Regions from separate parts of the Homo sapiens genome. Here regions 2 and 3 are each linked to region 1. Evidence: promoter capture Hi-C in human tissues and cell types (Jung and others, 2019). All regions are on one chromosome and are shown on one strand. The core of a region is centred on a gene start or on the middle of the fragment in contact, and the rest is flanking DNA. Distances in the headings are between cores, read along the strand shown. Region 1 holds the start of PPP5C (protein phosphatase 5 catalytic subunit). Region 2 has its middle 48 kb from the start of PNMA8B. Region 3 has its middle 20 kb from the start of IGFL3.

Evidence for each region. Contacts are between HindIII fragments. The study calls those that stand out against the background at their distance.
Region 2: a contact is called between a fragment that was not itself captured here and the fragment with the promoter of PPP5C in region 1, in 4 of the 25 tissues and cell types used here (H1 embryonic stem cells, aorta, dorsolateral prefrontal cortex and 1 more).
Region 3: a fragment that was not itself captured here is called in contact with the fragment with the promoter of PPP5C in region 1 in 2 of the 25 tissues and cell types used here (IMR-90 fibroblasts and liver).

Annotation. Positions count from the first base shown.
Region 1 is chr19:46,344,783-46,348,404 of GRCh38, forward strand. PPP5C (protein phosphatase 5 catalytic subunit) reads left to right here and starts at 2,305. Exons shown (of 13, transcript NM_006247.4): 1 at 2,305-2,435. The coding sequence starts at 2,315. RefSeq lists enhancers at 2,143-2,322, 2,423-2,552. The HindIII fragment of the contact is 31,019 bases long and covers 1-3,622 here.
Region 2 is chr19:46,542,275-46,545,703 of GRCh38, forward strand. It overlaps the pseudogene PPP5D1P. Among named protein-coding and RNA genes, the nearest start is that of PNMA8B, 48 kb to the left of the region's middle. The HindIII fragment of the contact is 3,360 bases long and covers 40-3,399 here.
Region 3 is chr19:46,102,714-46,106,537 of GRCh38, forward strand. It overlaps a transcript of IGFL2 not described here. Among named protein-coding and RNA genes, the nearest start is that of IGFL3, 20 kb to the right of the region's middle. The HindIII fragment of the contact is 4,668 bases long and covers 1-3,824 here.

The DNA of each region.
Region 1 (3,622 bases), core at 1,055-3,554:
GGAAGCCTTCCCTGCCTGCTCCAATTGGGTAAAGTGCCCCTAAAAGCTCCCCTTGGAAGCCCCCTCCCATCACAGCACTAGGCACTCTGCCCAACTCTGAATATTTGTTTTGTTTTATTTGTTTTTTGAGACAGAGTCTCACTCTGTAGCCCAGGCTGTCGTGCAGTGGCGCGATCTCGGCTCACTGCAGCCTCCGCCTCCTAGGTTCAAGCAATTCTCCTGCCTCAACCTCCCTAATAACTGGGACTATAGGTGCGCACCATCATGCCCAGCTAAATTTTTGTATTTCTGGTAGTGACGGGGTTTTGCCATGTTGGCCAGGCTGGTCTTGAACTTCTGACCTCAAGTGATCTGCCTGCTTTGGCCTCCCAAAGTGCTTCGATTACAGGCATGAGCTACCATACCCAGCCCACTTTGAGTATTTGTGATGGAGTGAATATAAAAGTACTACTCTGTGTCAGGCTCCCTGACAAATGCTGTACTCATGTTGTCGAACTCTCCTCTAATCCTGTATGATGGGGATAATTATTATCCCCACTTTACAGAGGTTGAAACTGAGGCTTAGAAGAGGGTGATCACTTGCCCAAGGTCACAGTGTCAGGAAGGATTCCGCTGGACTCGAAACCAGAATTCAAATCCACTATGGCAGCTCCTTTTCCCCCAACCCCAAAACAAACAATACGAACAAACAAAAGAAAAATTTACTAACCCACCAAGATGGGCTCTGGCACCTACAGAGGCAGTAGAGTGGCAATGAAGGACATAGGAATTAGATGGGATTCCTGATCCTGGCTCTGTCACCTTCTTATGTTGTTGTGACCTTCGTCAAACACCTCTGCAAGTCTGTGTCTTTATCTGTAAAATGGAGATGATACTAATATCTGCCCTTTAGGGTGATTGTTGGTTGTGCTGGGGGCCAGTAGGAGAGATGGGGTTGGACTAACAAGAGGTTTGGGAGTGGGATAGATAGGTTTAGGAGTGTGCTTCCAGGAGGGGATCCAGAGCCTTACAGGACTTAGTGCTACATGAGGGCTTAGAAAGGACAGACTGGAAGCGTGTACGGCGGGTGGGGATTGGCAAAGGGGTGGAATCTGGATATTAGACTATTCAGCCTGAGGTTAAGACTATTCAGGGTCTCCTAATCAGGAGTTTGGGTTTTCTCCTAAGGGTGCTGGGGCCATGGAAGCCTGGGAGCGAGAGTGTGCCATGGTTTTATCATGTCTTAGAAAGATCCCTCGGCCGGGCACGGTGGCTCACGCCTGTAATCCCAGCACTTTGGGAGGCCGAGGCGGGCGGATAGCTTGAGGTCGGCAGTTCGAGGCCAGCCTGGCCAACGTGGTGAAACCCGTTTCTACTAAAATACAAAAATTAGCCGGGCATGGTGGCGGGCGCCTGTAATCCCAGCTACTTGGGAGGCTGAGGCAGAAGAATCGCTTAAACCGGGAGGCGGAGGTTGCAGTGAGCCTAGATGGCGCCACTGCACTCCAGCCTGGGCGACAGAGGGAGACTCCCTCTCAAAAAAAAAAAAAAAAAAAAAAAAATGTGAAGGGTAAACTGGAGGGAGGCAGAGTGCATGCAATCAATGCTGTGATCTCAGACAAGAGAATCTGTAAAAACACAAACAGGAGAGTTTATTTGAAGATTCAGGATTTGGGAAGCTGAACACAGGAAGAAAGGAGATGGTGCAACACACTTCTAAGCCTTGCTCAGGACTTGAAATCCAGAGTGCCTTCAGTTAAAAACTCAAACACTGACCCTCAAGGTTGGACCCTTTTTGGCTTGAGAAACCACTAATTTTTCAGAGATGGGTAACTGAGACCCTAGAGAGGAAGGGAAGATTTGTTCAAGGTCACACAGGTAGTCGACAATAGGGCTCGACGCCCGGGTCCGGCTCCGCGTAGGGCATGGCGCTGCCTTGCAAAACAGCCACACCCGCCAGCGACATTCACAACCCACCCCCCAACCCTAGAGGACAGCGGGGAAATCCCACTTTCAGAACCGAGAAACTTTTTACAGCCTTGGAACACGGTAACTTTGGGAGGAGAGGCCACACCAGGTCTGTTTCCCCGCGCGCCCCTTCTCTCATTCCCTATTGGCTCTCTCTACCAGGGGTACCGTCTGGGGAACCTCTGGTCACCTTGTCCTCCGCGCGCTCTGTGGCGAAAGGGACCTGCGCAGGCGCGTGAAGGGCGCCTTCAGGGCCCGCGCTTTACGACACTTGTGCGGCAGCGGCGGCGGCCACCCGGCGCTCCTTCGCGACGGTTCGGCCGGGTGCCGCTGGCGGCCGTTGCCAGGGTAGGGGTCGCTTTGCGGCATGGCGATGGCGGAGGGCGAGAGGACTGAGTGTGCTGAGCCCCCCCGGGACGAACCCCCGGCTGATGGAGCTCTGAAGCGGGCAGAGGAGCTCAAGACTCAGGCCAATGACTACTTCAAAGGTGCGCCCGCCTGGCAGGGAGGGTGGACAGTGGCCCAGGCTGAGGGGTGCCGGGCCCGCGCGGAACCATAGCAACGCGGAGCTGCAGCCTGGGCGCGGGGCAGACACTACCAAGTGACCGGGCGTGGGGAGGCCCAGGATGGCGCTGCCAAGGAGCGACATAGGGGGCTTCGGAGAGTGATACCTAGGAGTGGCGTGCGGAGCGGGTGCTACTCAGTGGAGAGACTGAGGAGGGCGCCACCAATTGTGGGGCGAGAGGGGGACTGGAATGAGGGCGCTACCAAACGTGAGGCCTGTAGAGGGCGCTACCAGGCAGTGACATGTGGTGGGGGAGTGATTGATGGCGCTACCAAATGGGGAGTCCTGGGGTGGGTGCCGCCAAGTGGGGGGTAGAGGGGGCACAGCCCCAATAGAGAAGGCAATCGTGGGGGTGGGGAATGGATCATTAGATGGGGGGAACAAGGAAGTAGGAGATTTGGGCTGACCCGAGGAAAAGGAATGTGATGGTGGGGGCCTTGGGAGTAAGGGTGGGGATCCTTAAGAATAGTATCACTTAGAATATTGAGAGTCAAGTGTGGGGCACCCATTCATTCATTAATTCAACAAATATTTATTGAGTACCTGTTATGTGCCAAGGACTGTGCTTGACTTTGGGGATATAGCAGTGAATGAGACAGATGTGGCCCTGTCCTTAGCTTGTAATTTTGCAGGTGAACCAGACATGAAAAAAAAAAAAACAAAAAAAAACCATGTAAATAAGTAAAATACTTAAATTGTGATGAGTGCTTTGAAAGCAAACCAGCAGTGTGATGAAGTAGAGAATAAGGGTTGGAGGCTACTTTAGATAGGGTAGTGGGGGAAGGCCTTACTGAGCAGGAGGCGTTTAAGCTGAAACTCACAGAGGGAGAACTGGAGAGGAGTGTTCCAGGGAGGTAAAGCAGCCTGTGCAAAGGCCCTGGGATGGGGAATGAAAGGGTACTGGCATGGCTGGGGCTTTGGCTACTTAGGGGGAGACCAATAACAAGATGAGATTAGGACAGAGGCCAGATCATGCAGGGTCTCCGTGAGTCATTACAAAGACCAGTTTGGAATTTTTTTTTTTTTTTTTTTTTTGAGACGGGAGTTTTGCTCTTTTTGCCCAGGCTAGAGTGCAATGGCGCAATCTCGGCTCACTGCAACCTCCGCCTC
Region 2 (3,429 bases), core at 470-2,969, 200 kb after region 1:
ACAGAGCAAGACTCTGTCTACAAAAAAAAAAAAAAAAAAAAAAAAAATCAATTTTAATAGAGTGGCACATTGAGAACATACCCTAAACATTCATTCTGTTCTCCCGTGCAGCCAGGAGCTCCAGTTAATTTTCCTGTTACCAGCCTCATTTGTTAACTCTGTTCATTTGTGTCTTTCCTTGAAAGGATAATTTGAACAAAAGAGTCTAAGATTTTTTTAGAAATTGTTGCAATATCTGAAAAAAAAAAAAAAGAACCTCCCAAAGAAACCTGCATTCTGATTGGTTGTCTTCCTTGATTATTTGTTGCTATGGTGACCAGGAGGTTAAATAGCATCTCTGTATTTCCTAAAGAATAAATACTGGTTGGTTTTCTCTGGCAAATCAGAAAAGGATCATTTCTCTCCTTCCATGATCATGATGCAATAAAAGCCTAGGGCTCTTCTAGATTTATATTTTATCAAAGAAAGTGAGAGTCTTGTCTTATCCAAATTAACAGAAGCACTTAGTCCAGTGTCCAGTCGCTTGAGTGGCGGTGGCCACTCTCGGAAGGGCAATTACAAACTGTACTAATAGTAAGTCCAGCGCGCCATCTGGTGGCCAATTAGAGAATAGCATGACCGTATCTACTTAAACTAAAAGGCGACTCACCTCCCTTCTTGTCTGTTAAGGCTGCCCTAGCAAATTAATACAATAAGCTTGTTCCTGTTGGTCTTAGTCTGATTGAGAAAGAACCCTTGACTGCTTTGACCCATAGAATATGACAGATGTGACACTGTGCTGGGCATGGCGGCTCACGCCTGTAATTCCAACACCGAGAAGCAGAGGTGGGCGGATCGCTTGATCCCAAGACTGCAAGACCAACCTGGGCAACACAGAAAGACCCCAACTCTACTAAAAATAACTTTTTTGTTTTGTTGTGAGACGGAGTTTCGCTCTTGTCGCCCAGGCTGGAGTGCAATGGCGTGATCTCGGCTCACCACAGACTCCGCCTCCTGGGTTCAAGCGATTCTCCTGCCTCAGCCTCCCGAGTAGCTGGAATGACAGGGGTCCGCCACCGCACGTGGCTAATTTTGTATTTTTAGTAGAGACAGGGTATATCCATGTTGGTCAGGCTGGTCTTGAACTCCCGACTTCCACCCACCTCCGCCTCCCAAACTGTTGGGATTACAGGCGTGAGCCACCACTCCCGGCCAAAAATATAACTTTTAAAAATAGGCTGGCGTGGTGGCCCGCACCTGTAGTCCCAGCTACTCGGGAGGCTGAGGCAAGAGGATCCCTTGAGCCTAGGAGGTAGAGGCTGCGGTGAGCTATGATGGCGCCGCTGCACTCCAGCCTGGGTGACAGAACGAGACCCTGTCTAAACAAACAAACAAACAAACAAACAAGTGACACCGCCAGGCCTGGATCTACATTTTAAGGGAACCAGCAGATTCCGTCGTGATCTCTTTGGCTCCCAGGCTACTGTGTAAGAATTGCAACTCCCCAGCCGGGCGCGGTGGCTCACGCCTGTAATCCCAGCACTTTGGGAGGCCAAGGCGGCGGATCACGAGGTCAGGAGATCGTGACCATCCTGGCTAACACGGTGAAACCCCGTCTCTACTAAAAATACAAAAATTAGCCGGGCGTGGTGGCAGGCGCCTGCAGTCCCAGCTACTCGGGAGACTGAGGCAAGAGAATGGTGTGAACCCAGGAGGTGGAGCTTTCAGTGAGCCCAGATCGCGGCCACTGCACTCCAGCCTAGGCGACAGAGCGAAACTCCGTCTCAAATAAATAAATAAATAAATAATAAAAAAAGAATTGCAGCTCCCCTAAGAGCATGGAGCTGTGAGAAGGCCCAGGAGAATTGAAGCTTCCAGACATGGGAGTGAAGAAGCCATCTTGGAGGTGGGTCCTCCAGCCCTCATCACATGATGCCACGTGGAACAGAAATGAACATCCAGTCAAACCCTTTTCACATTCCTGACCCACAAAATCCTGAACAAGCTTGGGAATTAAGCTATTACTGTGCCATTTTTTGTTGTTGTTGTTTTTGTTTTTTCTTTTTGTTTTGTTTTGGGTTTTTTTTTTTTTTTTTTTTTTTGGTTTTCTGGGTTTTATTTGAGATAGAGTTCTGCTCTTGTTGCCCAGGCTGGAGTGCAATGGCACTATCTCGGCTCACTGCAACCTCCGCCTCCTGGGTTCAAGTGATTCTCCTGCCTCAGCCTCCTGAATAGCTGAGATTACAGGTGCCCACCACCACGCCCGGCTAATTTTTGTATTTTTAGTAGAGACAGTGTTTCGCCACGTTGGCCAGGCTGGTCTCAAACTCCTGACCTCAAGTGATCCGCCCACCTCGGCCTCCCAAAATGCTGGGATTACAGGCGTGAGCCACCGCCTGCGGCCATTGTGCCACTTTTATAGAGGAGGAGATTGAGGTTCAGAGGCCCAGTTGATGGTCCAAGATCACACACTGGGAAGTACTGGAACCAGGGTTATGAAATCCTGTCTGCTTGGCTGCAAAGCCTCTACTCTTCCACACTGCATTATTTAGGAAGACAGACAGGCTTTGGGCACGAGCGTGGGCCTCACTGAGGGGAGAGGGGCCTTCTGGCCTCAGTAATATCCCTGTTCCCTTCTCTGACTGTCACTTCCCCCTTAGAGACAGAGTTTCTGCAGAGTGGAGTCTCTTCTCACGCCTGGGAGAGTTTGTGCAGGAGACATGAGAGCTGAAGATCTGGCACCACCTTTGCCTTAAAGACAAAAGGTGACATTTGGGAAAAGCATGCCACTCTTCGAGTGGTACTTAAGGATCCATGGGCTGAATCTGCCTTTTTTTCCCCAACTGATTTGGCAAGGACCTTCAAATAAATCCAGTGGAGCTTCTTGGGGCAGCATGGCCCACTCTCAAGAGTTTAGCCTTTGAGTCATGTGTGGTGGCTCGTGCCTATAATCCCAGCACTTTGGGAGGCCGAGGCAGGCTCACTTGAGGTCAGGAGTTCAAGACCAACCTAGCCAACATGGTGAAACCCCATCTCTGCTAAAAATACAAAAATCAGCTGGGCATGGTGGCAGGCACCTGTAATCCCAGCTACTCAGGAGGCTGAGGGAGGAGAATCGCTTGAACCCAGGAGGCAGAGGTGGCAGTGAACTGAGATCGCACTACTGTACTCCAGCCTGGGCAACAGAGCAAGACTCTGTCTCAAAAAAAAAAAAAAAAAAAAGAGAGAGAGAGAGAGAATTTAGCCTTTGGACTCGCACAGATCTAGGTTCAAACTCCAGCTTTGCTACTGCAGCCTCAGCGCACTTATCTGTAGAATGGGATTTCAAAATGATGTCTGCTTCTCAAAGTTGCTTTGAGAATTTGCTGATATTTTGTCTTTAAAATACTTCATTGTGTGCTGCCTTACACAAAGATCAGAATCTCTGAAAGGACAGGACAGGAACTTTTT
Region 3 (3,824 bases), core at 473-2,972, 240 kb before region 1:
CAGGGGATATGATGGCTTAGATTCAGCTGAGAGACCTGACATTTCTGTCTTCTTATATTAATAAGAAAAATAGAACAAAATAGCGGTGAAGTGTTGGGGCGGCAAAATATTTTTGGGGGTGGTATGGAGAGATAATGGGCAATTTTTCTCATGGCTGCTTTGAGCAGGATTAGGGGCAGCATGGGAACCTGGAGTGGGAAAGATTAAAGAAAGATTTTGGGGTAAGGGGTGATATTGTGGGTTTATTAGAAGGAACATTTGTCATATAGAATGGTGATGGCCTGGATGCAGTTTTGTATGAATTGAGAAACTAAACAGAAGACACAAGGTCCAAATAAGAGAAGGAGAAAAACAGATATTAAAAGACTAAGAAATGGGAGGACCCAGGACATCCAATTAGAGAGTGCCCAAGGGGGTTCAGTGTAATTATTTGCTTGGTTGGTGAGTTTTTGGGCTCAATCCTTGAGTTTTTGATGTTGTCATATACCAGGCCAGATTGATTTAGGTAAAAGCAACACTCTTCTTTTAAAAAATATACAGAGTCCCCTTTTTTTTTAGCAGTAAGTCAAAGCCTCGGCGATTTTGGAGGAAAAAGAAATGCAAAGCCAACAATCGTTTGTTAAAGAAGGTTTAGAAACGGCTAGGAGAGAGTGAGTGAGATTGATAGTGTGGTGGAGGTAGCTGGGGAGAGGTAGAGGGTGGCACAAGAACGGGAATGAGAATAAGAGTGAGTGTAAAAGTAAAGAATAGGACTTCATCAGGGTGAAAGTATTGGAGTGTGCCCTGTGAGCAAAGATCATCTATCCACTCCAAGAGGGAGTCAAGAGTGGCGGATTGGGGATAGTACTAGGAGATATCCGCTGTGATGGTTTGGAGGAAAAATGTAAACTGGCAGTGTAAACAGGGGCACGACACTTATGAGTAGTTGAGAATGGTGAATAGGAATATGACTAGACAGAAGATAGTAGGGATGACAAGTTTTTGGGGTGCAATCCAAGTGGGAGGGGTGAATGCGTAAAGCTTTGTTGGGAAGAGTAGGGTAAGGACGAAGAGACCTAATAAAAATGATAGGATGTATTAGGCTTATAAGGGTTACTATTATCATTTAGGAATGCGGGTGAGTTTAAGGGAAGTAGGGTTGAGTACTTGCGACTTCCAGGAGGAAGAGGAGAGATCAGGCTGTCTGTCTGACAGACAAAGCTTTATTCTGGAATGGTGAACCCAATGGGGAGGGTCCTGCAGGCGGACAGCAGTTGGGGTACTAGAGATGACTAAGTAGGGTCCAGTCCATCGAGGTTGTAGAGTTTGAAGGGTCAGATTTTTAACAAGAACTTATCATCCAGCTAGGGTGTCTTCATATGGCTGGGAATCTGGAGTAGGCAAGAGAAGATGAGCAGCCTGGCAAATTTCCTGTCTAGCCTGCTGGAAGACTGGAAGATAGTCGCCTAGAGGGCTGGTGTCTGGGGCAAGGTTGGGTCCGAGCAAGAAAGTGCATCCATATAAAAGTTCAAATGGACTGTACCCTGTAGCATCTCGAGGACAGGCTCTAATTCTGAGAAGGGCAAGAGGTAAAAGTACTGTCCAGTCCTTTTTAAGTTGGAGGCTGAGCTTGGTGAGGTGTGTCTTTAAAAGACCATTAGTCCGTTCTACCTTTCCTGAAGATTGAGGACGGTAAGGGGTATGAAGCTTCCACTGAATAGAGCCTGAGAAACTGCTTGGGTGATTTGACTAATAAAAGCTGGTCTGTGATGAGACTGTATAGAGGTAGGAAGGCCAAACCAAGGAATTATGTCTGGAAAAAGGGAAGAAATGACTGCGGTAGCCTTCTCAGATCCTGTGGGAAAGGCCTCTATCCATCCAGTGAAAGTGTCTACCCAGACCAAGAGGTATTTTAGTTGCCTGACTCAGGGCATGTAAGTAAATCAATTTGCCAGTCCTGGACAGGGGCAAATCCCTGAGCTTGATGTGTAGGGAAGGGAGCGGGCCTGAACAATCCCTGAGTAGTAGTAGAATAGCAGATGGAACACTAAGAAGTGATTTCCTTGAGGATAGATTTCCACGATGGAAAGGAAATGAGAGGTTCTAAGAGGCAGGCTAGTGGCTTGTAACCTACATGGAAGAGGTTCTGAAAAGATGACAGAATAGAATGGGCCTGTGAGGCTGGAAGGAGATATGTTCCTTGGTCCAAGAACCATTTGCCTTGTGTGAGAGGAGATTGATAGGTGGAAGTTACAGTGGGAGAGTAGGTGGGAGTGACTGATGAGAAGGAGAAAAACTGGCCATGAGGGACAGAAGTTGGAATGCTAGCTGCTTCTTCAGCTACCTAATCAGCATAAGCGTTGCCCTAAGCAATGGGATCTGATGCCTTTTGATGGCCCTTGCAGTGAATGACTCCAGCTTCCTTTGGAAGTAAAGCGGCCTTGAGAAGAGTTTTTATTAAAGATGCATTAATGATGGAGGACCCTTGTGTAATGAGGAAACCTCTTTCAGCCCATATAACAGCATGATGGTGCAGGATATGGAAGGCATATTTAGAGTCTGTATAAATATTGATGCGTAGTCCTTTTGCAAGAGTGAGGGCTCGAGTTAAGGCAATGAGTTTGGCTTGCTGAGAGGTAGTGGAGTGGGGCAGAGCAGTAGCCTCAATGATAGATGTGGAAGATACTATAGCATAGCCTGCCTTTGCTAGTGATTGGTGATTAGGCTTGGTGGAACTGCCATCAATAAACCAAGTGTGATCAGGGTGAGGAACAGGAAAGAAGGAAATATGGGGAAATGGAGTGAATACAAGTTAGATCAGAGAGATACAGTTATGGGGGTCAGGTGGGGTATCAGGAATAATGTGGGAGGCTGGATTGAAGTCCGGGCCAGGAACAATGGTAATCGTTGCAGACTCAACAAAGAGTGAATATAGCTGAAGGAGCCAGGGGCAGAAAGTATATGCATCAGGTGTGAGGAAGAAAATAGATTTTGGAAGTTATGAGAACTGTAGGGAGTGAGTTAAGCATAGTTTGTGATTTTGAAGGCCTCTAAAAGTATTAGAGCAGCAGCAGCTGCTGCACACAGAGATGAGGGCTAGTCTAAAACAGTAAGGTCAAGTTGTTTGGACAGAAAGGCTACAGGGTGCAGTCCCAGCTCTTGTGTAAGAATTCTGACTGCACAGCCCTGTACTTCAGCTGTGTGTAATGAAAAGGGTTGGGATGAGTTAGGGAGAGCAGCTTTTAGGGTTGTTTTTTAAGGAATGGAAAGGGGAATGGGGAAAGGATTTAGGATTTATGGGGTCAGCTAAGTTTCCTTTTGTGAGTTTATATAATGGTTTAGTCAGGATGGCAAAACCAGATATCCAAAGGAGAAAGTACCTTAACCATGCCTAGGAAGGAAAGGAGTTGTTGTTTGTAGAAGGGGTTGGGGTTTGGGAGATTAGCCGGACACAATCAGCAGGGAGAGCACGTGTGTTTTTATGAAGAAAGGTGCTGAGATAGGTAACGGATGAGGAAGAAATTTGGGCTTTGGAGGGGGATATGCAATATCCTTTTGAGAATAGATGTTGGAGGAGCAGGAGGGTGCCCTGTTGGGAAGACTTGTAGGGTGGGCTATAAAGGAGAAGGTTGTCAAAATTTTGAATAAGGTGAGAAGCAGATGGACAGAAAGAAAGTAAATCATGAGAAAGGGCTTGACTGAAGTAATGGGGGCTGTCCCTGAAGCCTTGTGGCAGTACAGCCCAGGTAAGTTGCTGGGACTGATGGGTGTCAGGGTCAGTCCAAGTGAAAGTGAAGAGAGGCTGGGATGAAGGGTGTAAAGGAATAGTAAAGAAAGCATGTTTC